2 separate regions of the Homo sapiens genome follow, and region 1 is linked to region 2. Evidence: promoter capture Hi-C in 16 types of primary human blood cells and fetal thymus (Javierre and others, 2016). All regions are on one chromosome and are shown on one strand. The core of a region is centred on a gene start or on the middle of the fragment in contact, and the rest is flanking DNA. Distances in the headings are between cores, read along the strand shown.

Region 1 (5,375 bases), core at 1,819-4,318, 240 kb before region 2:
CATGCCTGTAATCCCAGGACTTTGGGAGGCCAAGGTGGGTGGATCACCTAAGGTCAGGAGTTCAAGACCAGCCTGGCCAACATGGTGAAACCCCATTTCTACTAAAACTACAAAAATTAGCCGGGTGTAGTGGCGGGCACCTGCCTGTAATCCCAACTACTAGGGAGGCTGAGGCACGAGAATCGCTTGAACCCTTGAAATCTGGAGGCAGAGGTTGCAGTGAGCTGAGATTGCACCATTGCACTCCAGCCTGGGTGACAGAGTGAGACCCTGTCTTAAAAAAAAAAAAAAAAAAAAGGAAGTGATAACTAAAGGATACAGGGTTTCTTCTTCTTCTTTTTTTTTTTTTTTTTTTTTTGAGATGGAGTTTCGAGCTCAGGCTGTAGTGCAATGGCATGATCTCAACTCACCGCAACCTCCGCCTCCCGGGTTCAAGCAATTCTCCTGCCTTAGCCTCCCGAGTAGCTGGGATTACAGGCATGCGCCACCACACCTGGTATTTTTGTATTTTTAGTAGAGACGGGGTTTCTCTATGTTGGTCAGGCTGGTCTCAAACTCCTGACCTCAGGTGATCCGCCCGCCTCAGCCTCCCAAAGTGCTGGGATTACAGGCGTGAGCCACCACGCCTGGTCCAGGGTTTCTTCTTGAGGTGAAGAAAGTGGCCAGGAGTAGTTGCTCATGCCTGTAATCCCAGCACTTTGGGAGGCTGATGGAGGAGTAGAGCTTGAGTCCAGGATTTCAAGACCAGCATGGGCAACATGTTGAGGCCCCATCTCTACAAAAATAGAAAAATATTAATGGAGCATGGTGGCACACACCTGTGTTTCTAGGTACTCAGAAGGCTAAGGCAGGAGGATCTCTTGAGCCCAGGAGGTTGAGGCTGCAGTGAGCCGTGATCTTACCACTACCCTCTGGCCTGGGAAACAGAGGGAGAACCTGTCTCAAGAAAAAAGAAAGTGTTCTAAAATAGACTGTGTTGAAGTTGGCGCATATCTATGAATTATACTAAGAACCATTGACTTGTACAATTTAAATGGGTAAACTGTGTGGTATGTATATTATATCTCAATAAGCCCATTTTTAAAAAAACAAAACCCACTAGAAGATAAACTTCAGGAGGATGGGACTTTGCTAGCTCCTGACTGTCTCTGGCGTGTGGTGGGCACCCAGGAGCTGTTTTGTGACTGGTAAATGAATGAATGCTTGACCTCTTTCTCCCAACCCCTCACTGCCAATTCAGTGCAAAATCCTATTGTTTGACCTCTAAGTTCTGGCCGCTTCTCCCCAGCTTCACTGCCACCACGCAGTTTCACACTACCATTTTCTCCATCTCACAAGAGCCCCCTCCCATCCATTCTCCACGCAGCTGTCACAGAAGCCTTCTAAAAAGACAGAACTGATCTGTCCTGCCTCTGCCAAAAATGCCTCAATAATTTCCCATTGCTCCCAGGACAATGTGCAAAACCCCAAACATGGCCTCCAGGCCACCTTGCCTGCCTTGGCTTCTCCACCTACCTTGCCTGCCTTGGCTTCTCTGTCACCACCATACTCTGCTCTCCCCTCTCTGCAGTAGGTATCAGCTCTCCTGGTTCCTCAGACACTGCCTAGAACATGGGCAGAGCCTCCACTCACCCCATCCCACACACCCACTCTCCTCTCCAGTAGAGCTCAGCTCCAGGCCATCTCCTTACAGGGCTTCCCAGAAAGAGGCCATAACCCGCTTCGTAGGTCCTCACATCTCCCTGAAATCTCATGGCACTTACCATGCAAGCTTGTCATTATATATCTATTTGGGTGTTTATTTCAATTCAACTCAACCAATATTTATGGATGACCTGCATGCCAGGTCCTCTTTCACAACACCTCCTCCTGGTCCCATCCCCAACCTACAAGGGCTCCCTGTCTGCCTCTGTCCCTTTGCCCCTGAGAGGCCAGGACCAGCCCAGCCAGTAGACTCCTGGGCAGATAATGACAGCAAAGACACAACAACTGGCCATGCACAGTGGCTCACACATGTAATCCCAGCACTTTGTGGGGGCCAAGGTGGGTGGATCACTTGAGGCCAGGAGTTCAAGACCAACCTGGCCAGTATGGCAAAACCCCATTTCTTCTAAAAATACAAAACTTAGCCAGGCATGGTGGCAGGCACCTGTAATCCTAGCTACTTGGAAGACTGAGGCAGGAGAATCACTTGAACCCAGGAGATGGAGGTTGCAGTGAGCTGAGATCGCACCATTGCACTCCAGCCTGGGCGACAGAGCAAGACTCTCTCAAAAACAAAAACAAAAACAACAAAAAGACGCGATAACAACTGCCACCCAGTCCAGCCTTTCCAGGGCCCGACTGGCCCAGCAGTCAGGGCCAGTGAGGAATGGATGGGCAGAGCATGAGCTGGGCACCTGGACAAGTTCTAGATCAGCTCTGCCACTGGCTGGACATGAGGCCTTGGGCCAATCCCTGCCCTCCCTGGACTTCAGTGTCCTTATTTATAAAAAGAGTCTCTCGGTCTGACTTAGGAGAGTATTCTTTGAATCAATGACCAAGATCTTTATAAAAAGTTCATGATGACAGGGCTTCGGGTTTCACTCATTCACTCTTCAATCGTTGATCATTGATTCATTCATTAATCGCCATATATTTATCAAGCATCTCCTCTATAACAGGCCTTATTCTAAGCTGAGTTGTCACAGGGACCAAGACAATGACAGGCAGGGCCTATTGAGGATACAGATATGGGGCCACGGACACAAACACATCAACAGGCAATCCCAGTTCTGTGTGTGAAAGGAAAAATATAATGTTCTTTATTCTTTTTTTTTTTTTTTTTTGAGACAGAGTCTCACTCTGTCGCCCAGGCTGGAGGGCAATGGCGCGATCTCTGCTCACTGCACCCTCCGCCTCCCGGATTTAAGTGATTCTCCTGCCTTAGCCACCTGAGTAGCTGGGATTACAGGTGCTGGTCACCACACCCAGCTAATTTTTGTATTTTCAGTAAAGACAGGATTTCGCCATATTGGCCAGGCTGGTCTTGAATTCCAGTCCTCAGGTGATCTGCCCACCTCGGCCTCCCAAAGTGCTGGGATTGTAGGCATGAGCCACTGCACCTGGCCATAATATAATGTTCTTTATTTTCTAATAATGCCATCTTTATTTCAAGTGCTGCCTCAAATGAGGTAGAAGGAGAATATATCTGTTGTCAATGCTGCCTACTCCTTTTCTGCCATCACCTCCTTTCTTCTAGTCCAGGAAAAGTATTTATCAAGTCAAGGAAGGGATGGGGAGCAGGGTGGGATTCAGTTACTGTGGATATGTAACAAAAAAATTCACAATTCAGGCAGGGCTCAGCGGGGACACTTCTGTTCTGCTGGGCATCCGCTGGGGAAGCTGGAAGGCTGCAGCAAGATCATCTGAAGATTCACTCACATGCCTGGCTGTTGGCTGAAAACTTAGAATATGTACAGGTGGCCTCCCCATGTGGCCTTGGCTTCCTGACAACACGGCGGCTGGTTTTCAAGGGTGAGTATGGACAGAAAGAGAGAGAGAAGCTGAACTGCTGCAATGACCTACCCTGGGAAGATTAGGCTTGCGCCACATTCTGTCCACCTAGTCGTCTCAAGATCCCACTCAGTTTCAATGGGATGAGGAAATATCCAACTCTTGATTGGAAAGGTTCTGGAAGAGCATGTGGAAAAGAAACTATGGCCATGGCCACGTTTGAAAAATACAAGCTACCACAAGAGTGGGGAATGGTCCAGTTTACTTTTTTTTTTTCTAATGTCTCCCCTTTTTTTTTTTAATGACTTAAACCTTTCAGTTCCCCTAAGGGCTTAGGATTCAGGACACAAAGTCCAGTGACTTTTCTGCTTTCTGCTTTGTCATGGTCCTCCTGAGGAAATAAGGACCTCAGTTAACATCTAGCAAGTAACACCAACCAGGTGGAAAAGTGCTCTGAGAGCCACCCTGGCCTGAGGAATTGGGAAGCTGGGAAGGGAGGAGGAAGGAGAAAGTGGCCAGATGTGGAAGAGACAGGTAGGGCAATGAGGGACAGAGGGACGTCAGGGTAGATGCTTAGTGCTCCATGCAGGGAGGGAACAGCATGTGCAAAGCTGCTAAAGGAAAAAAAGAAGAAGTCAGCATTGAGACAGAGCTGAGAGACGAGGAGGGTGAGATTGGCAAACCAGTTAAACTTTATATGAGGAGTCTGGTGTGAAGTCATGGAAGGAAGGGTTTTAAGCAAAATAATGTGATAAGATTTGTATAAAGCCTACCTTGAATAAAGTGAAATGGATTCAAGAAGCATTTGAGAAGCAGAAATATTGGGTCTTGTTGATGTATTGGGTATGGAGGAGGGAAAGGGAAGCTTCCCCCAGGTGCTCACAGCACCTCCTTCTCAGGGTTTGCCCAGATTCTGGCCAGGAGGCCACAGCCACTGCCAGGAGCCAGCACAGCCCACTGCATGCCTGCAAAGGCGGGCCATGGCAGGACAAGACCTCCTGGAATGGGATGAGACATGCACTCCCAACTGTCCACAGCTTCACTAGGGCCTTCATCCGTGAGCAGGATTCCCGTCTGTTCTCTCCCCAGGAGCAGAGCTCAGTAGCCTCTGACAAAGGGACTTCTCAGCCAATGATGCGGGAGTAGAGGCCTAGCAGGCTGGAGGGCAGTGGGGAGGAGGAGCTGCAGGGCATCCTGCAGCCAGAGAGCACCCCCTGGGTGAACAGGTGACCCAATCTGCCTTCCACAGGAATCACCAGGAAAGGTGAGGCCAGGAAGGATAGAGACGCTTCTTGCACACCTGAGTGGGGAGATGCGTCTGCATTGGGACCAAATCTGAAGTTACCTGGGCCCCTGGGCCACCTGCTCTGGGCACCCAGCACTAGCACCATTGTGCCCAGGGCAGGAAAGCCACAGGATGAATGTGCCCCACCTTCCTAGAGCAGCAATTTGGCTCAAAGAATGTGAGGAAAATATTATTTTCACATTAAACAGTATGATGAAGTAGAATGTAAGATGCCTGTGTGGATATTCAATAAACGGAAGACTTGCGATCCCACTGGTGCTCTGGGTTGGCTGTTTTGAGCCAAGCCCACGCCCACACACAAGCCTTCAGGGGAATGTGGTGTGGCTCCTTCAGGTGCCTCTCTGGTGGAAAAGTCTGAGGAAGATCACAGGCTTCGTTAACACCCGCAGTCCCGAGGATGGCTCTGCAACAGGATCTGCTGCTGGGAACGAACAGCAGTGTGTGGAAGGGGCCCCCAGGCCACACAGGTGTCACCTCAAGGAGCAGCTCCCGGTCACCCACAGCACTGAGAGGTGGTGGAAGTGTTGGTAGTGTCTTTCACTGGTGGAAGGTGACCTCTCCTGGAGCTGGTCTA
Region 2 (6,098 bases), core at 2,900-5,399:
GTGGTCTACAGGAAGGAGCACTGGACAGCGATTTATAAGTTCTTGGTCTAAATCCCAGCTCTGTTAATGCAGGACTGTGGGACACGATTTATCTTTTAGGACCTCAGTTTCCTCATCAGTTGCCAGTTCTGCCGTCCATAAAATGGGCATATCATTCTTCTCAAACTGCACAGATCCAACAAGATAAAGCAGGTGAAAATCTTTGTGACTTCTCAAGCCCTGTACAAGCAGGCAGCGTTGGAAGGAAGGACAGCAGAGAAGGAAGCAGGTGGAGTGGAAGCCCCCGGGGTGGTGGGCTTTCCAACACCCCAGGAAGGGGCTCCCTCTCCAAACACTGGCTGCCAATCTGAAAGGCACTCCTATTTCTCAGTGCGAATAAGTGTATCAGATTCTTTCTTTCTCTGGGGACCATTTTGGTGACGGGAAGGAGGTGGCACAGAGGTGGGAGACATGCAGGAAGGCCTCTCAGAAGGAGGAAGGAGGGATTCCAACTCAAATTTCTGGAGTCCCCCAACTAAGTCCAGCCCTTCAGGTTCCCTGGCATCTCCTCCCAGGACCCCAACCTCCTTCCTCTGTGTCACCTCCCAGAAGTCAAATCACCCCTTCCATCAACAGACCCCTGTCTCTTTGACCGCCCCTTGTTTTTCTTTCTTTCTTTCTTTTTTTTCAAAAGCTCAGAGCTTACAATCCATTTTTTTTCCCTAAGGGCTTTAGATATCTGAACGAAAGGACAGGAAAAGGAATACTACACACATGTTCTTACAGTCACAAAAACCCCCACGTGGACACACGGTCACACGCATCATCACACACGCCCCCAAGCACATTCCCAATACTGAGACACTGACACAGACTCTCTCCCACCACACACAATCACTCACAGACTGCCAGGTACACAGTCGCATGCTGAGACACTGTCCCCAACACACACACACAGAGGAACACACAGACACTCTCACATGCACACTATCTCTCCTGCACATATAGACACACACTAGTTGACACCCATTCACACACCAAGATGCCCCCCCCCCCACACACACACACAGACCCTCCCACAGACACAGTATCATATGCAGGGTCACAAAAACATAGACACTGTCAGATGTACAGTTGCATGCTGAGATGTTGCACACACAGGGACTCATTCCCACACAGACTGTTACACACAGGGTCACTCACACATACCTGGGAACTGGGGGTTCATATAGCCTACTCCCTTCTCCCCCTGGTCTGTCTCAGACTACCTGTCTGTATCTCTGTCCCCTCCTCCAACCACCACCACCACCACACACACATAGGAATTTTCCTAGGGGCAGGCTGCAGCTGAGGAAGCCTGTTTTGCCTTGGTGCAAGGCATTCGAGGGCAGGATGTGGTTTCTTGGTTGCTCCTGCCCCAGCCCCCAGCCTGGGTCCTGTCCAGGAGGAAACCCAGCTTAGAACAATGTCCGCACTGATCAAGGCTCAGCCCTGGACTCCACCTGCCATTCACTAGAGTACAGAGACCCAGGGTCTCCAACAGCCCCTCTCTCATACTATCCTGCAGCCCTGGAAAACACTTCTGGATCCCCAAGGACAAATGGGTCAGTTCTGCCATTTGACTAAAGTGACTAAAGTTGCCATTTCAGGGGCCAGTGTCTCAATCCCCTCCATAACCCTATGTGATAGAGCTTATGATCCTTATTTACAGATAAGGACATGTATTGGGGATAACCAAGTGTCCAACTCCAGATCACCAGCTAATAGCAGACCCTATATTTGAATCCAGTTGTGTCTGATTTTAACTTTGAGTGTCAAAGGCTTGCCTGTCTCCTCAGTAGGCCCGCTCCCTCACCAGGGTATTGGAGAGGTAAGGACCAGGGTAGGGGAATGAGCCTTCCCAGCAGCAATGAAAGAGTAGCCTAGGGCACCTTCTTCAGAAGTCAACTCAGCCATCCCCCTACCTGCAGGGATGCTGTTTCCAGCCTCACGAGACCTGACAGTGAGCAGCTCACTCTCAGAGGTCTCCCTTCAGTCCCGTCTGAGTAGGAGGTGTTAGGTCAAGAGCCCAGCCCTTCACCCCTTTCTCTTCCCTGCTCCTGAACTGCTGGGCTACTTTATACAGGGGACCCTCTTTTTCTGAGCTTTCATTCCCCCATCAGCAACATGAGGGGAGTAACTCTAACCCTTTTGACTTCATAGACAGAAAACAAAATGCAAAATACACTATTTTTTAGTCTTATAAGCACGCATGATGTTGTGTCATAATTGTTGCAATCTATCCTTAACACCTCCTGTGACTCAGATCTCTGTGGCAGCTCAGTTTCCCATGACAAGAGCACCCCCTCAAAGCTCCCCTCCCTGCTAGGACCTGTCCCCTCCTATCCTTCTCTACCACCCCAATCCTGTTATGCCCCCAGGATGCCCAGCTTTTGCCTTAGGCCTGGGGCTAAGGAGTAAAATCGGATCAGAGGAAAGTGTGGGTTCAGGAGCCTGACACTTCTGGGAATAAGGCCTCTGGGAAGACAGCTCACAGAAACTTTCCTCTTCCCTTTGCTTTCTTCCCTTCATTCAAACCAGACCTGTAAACCTGGCCTGGAGGAGGATGGAACCAGGAAGCAGAGCCTCCACCCCTATCCCAACCCAGTCCGTAAGAGGAGGGAACGATGGGCAAGAACCACATCTTGGGTCTGCAGCCCTGGCCCCTGAAAGATCCCAGCCGCACCAGGAAAACCAAGGCCTGGCTGGGGGCGCTGTGAGGAAGGTGTCTTGGAAGGGGGAGGTTGTCTCCTGGGGCTCAGGACAGCAGCTGGGCTGGGGAACAGGGGCAGGGAGAGGATGCGTCTGGAAAATAATCTGGGGGCTGAAAAATGTGCTGGCATCTTAGCTGAGAGGTATGTCTGTCCACATCTGGGGTTTCCGCCGAGGTGGAGTCTGCCCTCACCAAGGCAATGGTTCTGGGACAAACTTCAAGGTTCGTTCAGGTCCACTCCCCACAGATCTCAGTTCTTTAGGTCTGGGGGTAGCAGTGGGAGGTGATAGGAAGAACCTGTTTCCTGACCCAGGACAGGCCACCCAAGTCTATGTCTCCTCTCTGCTCAAGCAAGTCCCAGCATCTTTGGACAGCTCCCCTCTTCAAAAGCAGCTGACCACTGTCCCTAGCCCAGGATCCCAGGGCAGGAAAAGCAACAAGGGCAAGAGAGAGGGGCTGCGGTGGTCCACCTGTGGCCTGCTCTCTGGTGGCACCAAGGAGCCCAGGTGTTCTTGCGTGTCCCAGTATGCCTTCTCTTGGGGCCTGCTGTCAGTGCAGGATGAGAATGGGAGGTCAGCAGAGTGGGTGAGTGGGGGCGCCTGGCTGCTTCCAGGGGGGCACTGAGCCTTCTGCCTGTTTGCTACAGAGGCTGGTAGGGGACGGGGGGTAGGTTCCATCTGGGAGGTCACTGGGAAGGACAAGCTGCCACCGCAGGGCCCCAGGAGCCATGAATCAAAGGCTGTGCTGGGGGCTGATGAGAAAGGGAGAGGAGCCGGGTCTCCGCACCCTGGCCCTCTCAGCTCCTCCCAGGGTCTTCTCAGGGTCTTTGAGCAGGTGGATTGTCTGGGGAGGCACTGCGGGAGAGGGGTCTGGGTCAGACTGTGGGGCAGAGGGAGTCCGGGAGGATGCCGGGCTGTGCCAGGGCCGCTGACACGGTTTAGAAGGAGTTGGGAAAGTGCTGGGGACAAAGGAGAAGCGGAGCAGAAGTCAGCGCAGGGCGGCCGCGGGGCAGCGGGTGCCCGGGCAGAGGGACCCGGGTGGCGAGGAAGAGGGCGCCTCGCTGGGGTTGGGGGGAATCCTCTGTAGTCCAAGCCCTCACCTGGGCCTTCCAGCCCAGGGGCACCAAGTCTCCAGTCCCTACTCCCCCCGAGGCTTTCGGATGCCCCCGCCAGCGGTCTCGGAGTTTCGTTCAAGTCCCGGGGCCCTCCACCAGGACACTGCGCCTGCAGCCCGCAGAGCCACCCGCCTCCCCCGGTGTCGTCGGGGTCCCTGGATCTCACCTGGGGGCGGGGGCCGGCCCTGCCCACCATCCCGAGCAGCAGCAGCGCAAGGCGCAGCGGGCCGGGGGCGCCGGCCATGGCGGGGAGTTCAGGACTGGGCCATCGCTGCCACCTGCGGAACCGCGTGCGGAGACTGATCCCGGGCTGGTGGCGGGCGGTGGGGGAGGAGCCGGCGAGGGGCCGCCCTGCCCGCGGGAGGGGCCTGGCAGGGTCCCGGTTCTTCCGGCCGCCAGAGACCCCTGGGCCCGCCCCGCCGCACCCCTCTGCCGGTCCCGGGCCAGGAGATAGCGGGCACTGCTCTCCGAGCGAGCGCGGCTGGGAATCAGGAAGCGCAGGAGGCGGCCACCAGCTCTGAGCGCCGACAGTGCGCCTGGCCGGCTTTCAGCGACAAGCCAGGCCCTCCTCCCACCCTGGCACCCCGGACCTCCTCCCGGGTCTCCCAGCTGAGGAAAGCTACAGCAACCCCCGCCCATTCAGGGTCCCTCAAAGGAAACTGAGGCCTGAGGAATGGACGGGACTTGTCCAAGGTCACACGGCTTGGCAGGCCACTCCTGGAAAGTATCCTCAGAGCCAGGGGTGACTAATAAGAACTTTTTTTTCCCAGGATTACCCCTTCCCAGGTCCTCTTCTCATTCCCATGTTCTGTCCTGAAGGCAGGCCCAGGATAGTCAAGGTTGGGGGTGGGGAGACTGACAAATGGATCCACAGAACTCTGACAGTCGCAAGGGTCTAGAGGTTCCCCTCTACCTGGAAACTTCAGCATTGCAGGGCAGGGAGGGATGAGGCTGGGGTCTGCCTTTCTGGAAGCTTCCCTGCCACCTCTTGCAGCTCCAGCCTCCTGCTCTTGTAACCTGTGTATGTGTGATAATGTGTGTCCATGGTTGTTCCTGCCTTCTTTATCTCTCTCCCTGCTTCGCTTCTTGGGGACTCTGGATCTTTCCTGTCTGTTTCCACTCCCACCCCTAAACACTGCAGGGCCCTCAGGTTCCCTTCTTACACCCAACAAGTGGAAAGAGAATGCTAAGAGGGCACTGACTGTATCTTCCCTAATGCTCTTGAGAAGTGGGGATGGGAAAAGAGGATCCCCCACCAAAGAACCTTGATGCCACTCTTAGGAAAGATGAGTTGTGGCAGAGCCCAGCCTCGGACCTGCCGTGGGGCATGTCGACTAAAGGGACAGGAAGTTTGTGAAAGTAGCTACTCCTGGGGAGAGAACTGAACTTCTCAAAGTCCTGAGGAAGGCTGGACCTGCCTGAGCCCAGGGAAGGAGACAGCCAGTGGGAGGGGCCCCTGGCTTCCATTCACCAGGAGAGACTCTCCTCTCCAGCAAGCTCTGGTTCCACCACCTGAGACTCGTTTATTCCCTCCCCTCCCAAGAGGTCAGTCTAGCAGGGACCTTCTAGGTATCACTTAGGATTAGGTTGTTCACCTGGGAGTGACAGAAAATCCCACCCCAAACAACAATGGCATAACCAAGGGCTCTCTCATGTAAAGCAAGGCCAGAGGTTCAGCCCAAGGTTGGAGTGGCTGCTCCCTGATCATCAGGGTGCCTGGGTCTTCTAGCTTCCACCATCCTTTGGTCCAAGATTTCCACCTCATGATCCAAGGTGGCTGCTCCAGCCACGATATCCAAATTCCAACCAGCAGGAAGGAGGAATGGGAAGGAGATGGGTGCACCTCCACCCATAAAGACACATCTTGAAAGTGGCAGCCATCAATTCCACACCTCTTGCTCAGAACTTAGTCACATAGGCACTGCTAGCTGCAAAGGAGGGTGGGAAAAGCACCCTCTATTCCAGGCAACCATGGGCAAGGTTAAATACTGGGCTTTTATACTCTAGAAGAAGGCAAATTTTAAAAAAGATACTGGAAGTGAGTTTTAGGCACTGCTATATCAAGTTTAGGGTGGAGAGAGGAGAAAGGAAGAGATAGAGAAGCTATTCAGACAGAACTGGGGTCTTTATCATGAATTTGTCAGCCTCCAGATTACATTGATTCAGCAAGTATCTATCGAAAACCTACCATGTGCCAGACACCATTCTAGGTCCTGGGGATACAATTGGTGATGCTGTCCCTATCTTCAGAGA

The links. Contacts are between HindIII fragments. The CHiCAGO score rates a contact against its expected background, and 5 or more counts as called.
Region 1: a fragment that was not itself captured here is called in contact with the fragment with the promoter of GLP1R in region 2 in 1 of 17 cell types (activated CD4 T cells); the score reaches 5.7 in activated CD4 T cells.

The regions. Positions count from the first base shown.
Region 1 is chr6:39,281,740-39,287,114 of GRCh38, reverse strand. No RefSeq gene overlaps it. Among named protein-coding and RNA genes, the nearest start is that of KCNK17, 30 kb to the left of the region's middle. The HindIII fragment of the contact is 2,589 bases long and covers 1,774-4,362 here.
Region 2 is chr6:39,046,832-39,052,929 of GRCh38, reverse strand. It overlaps GLP1R (glucagon like peptide 1 receptor), which reads right to left and starts at 4,149. Exons shown (of 13, transcript NM_002062.5): 1 at 4,012-4,149. The coding sequence starts at 4,089. RefSeq lists an enhancer at 2,965-3,465. The HindIII fragment of the contact is 5,231 bases long and covers 1-4,820 here.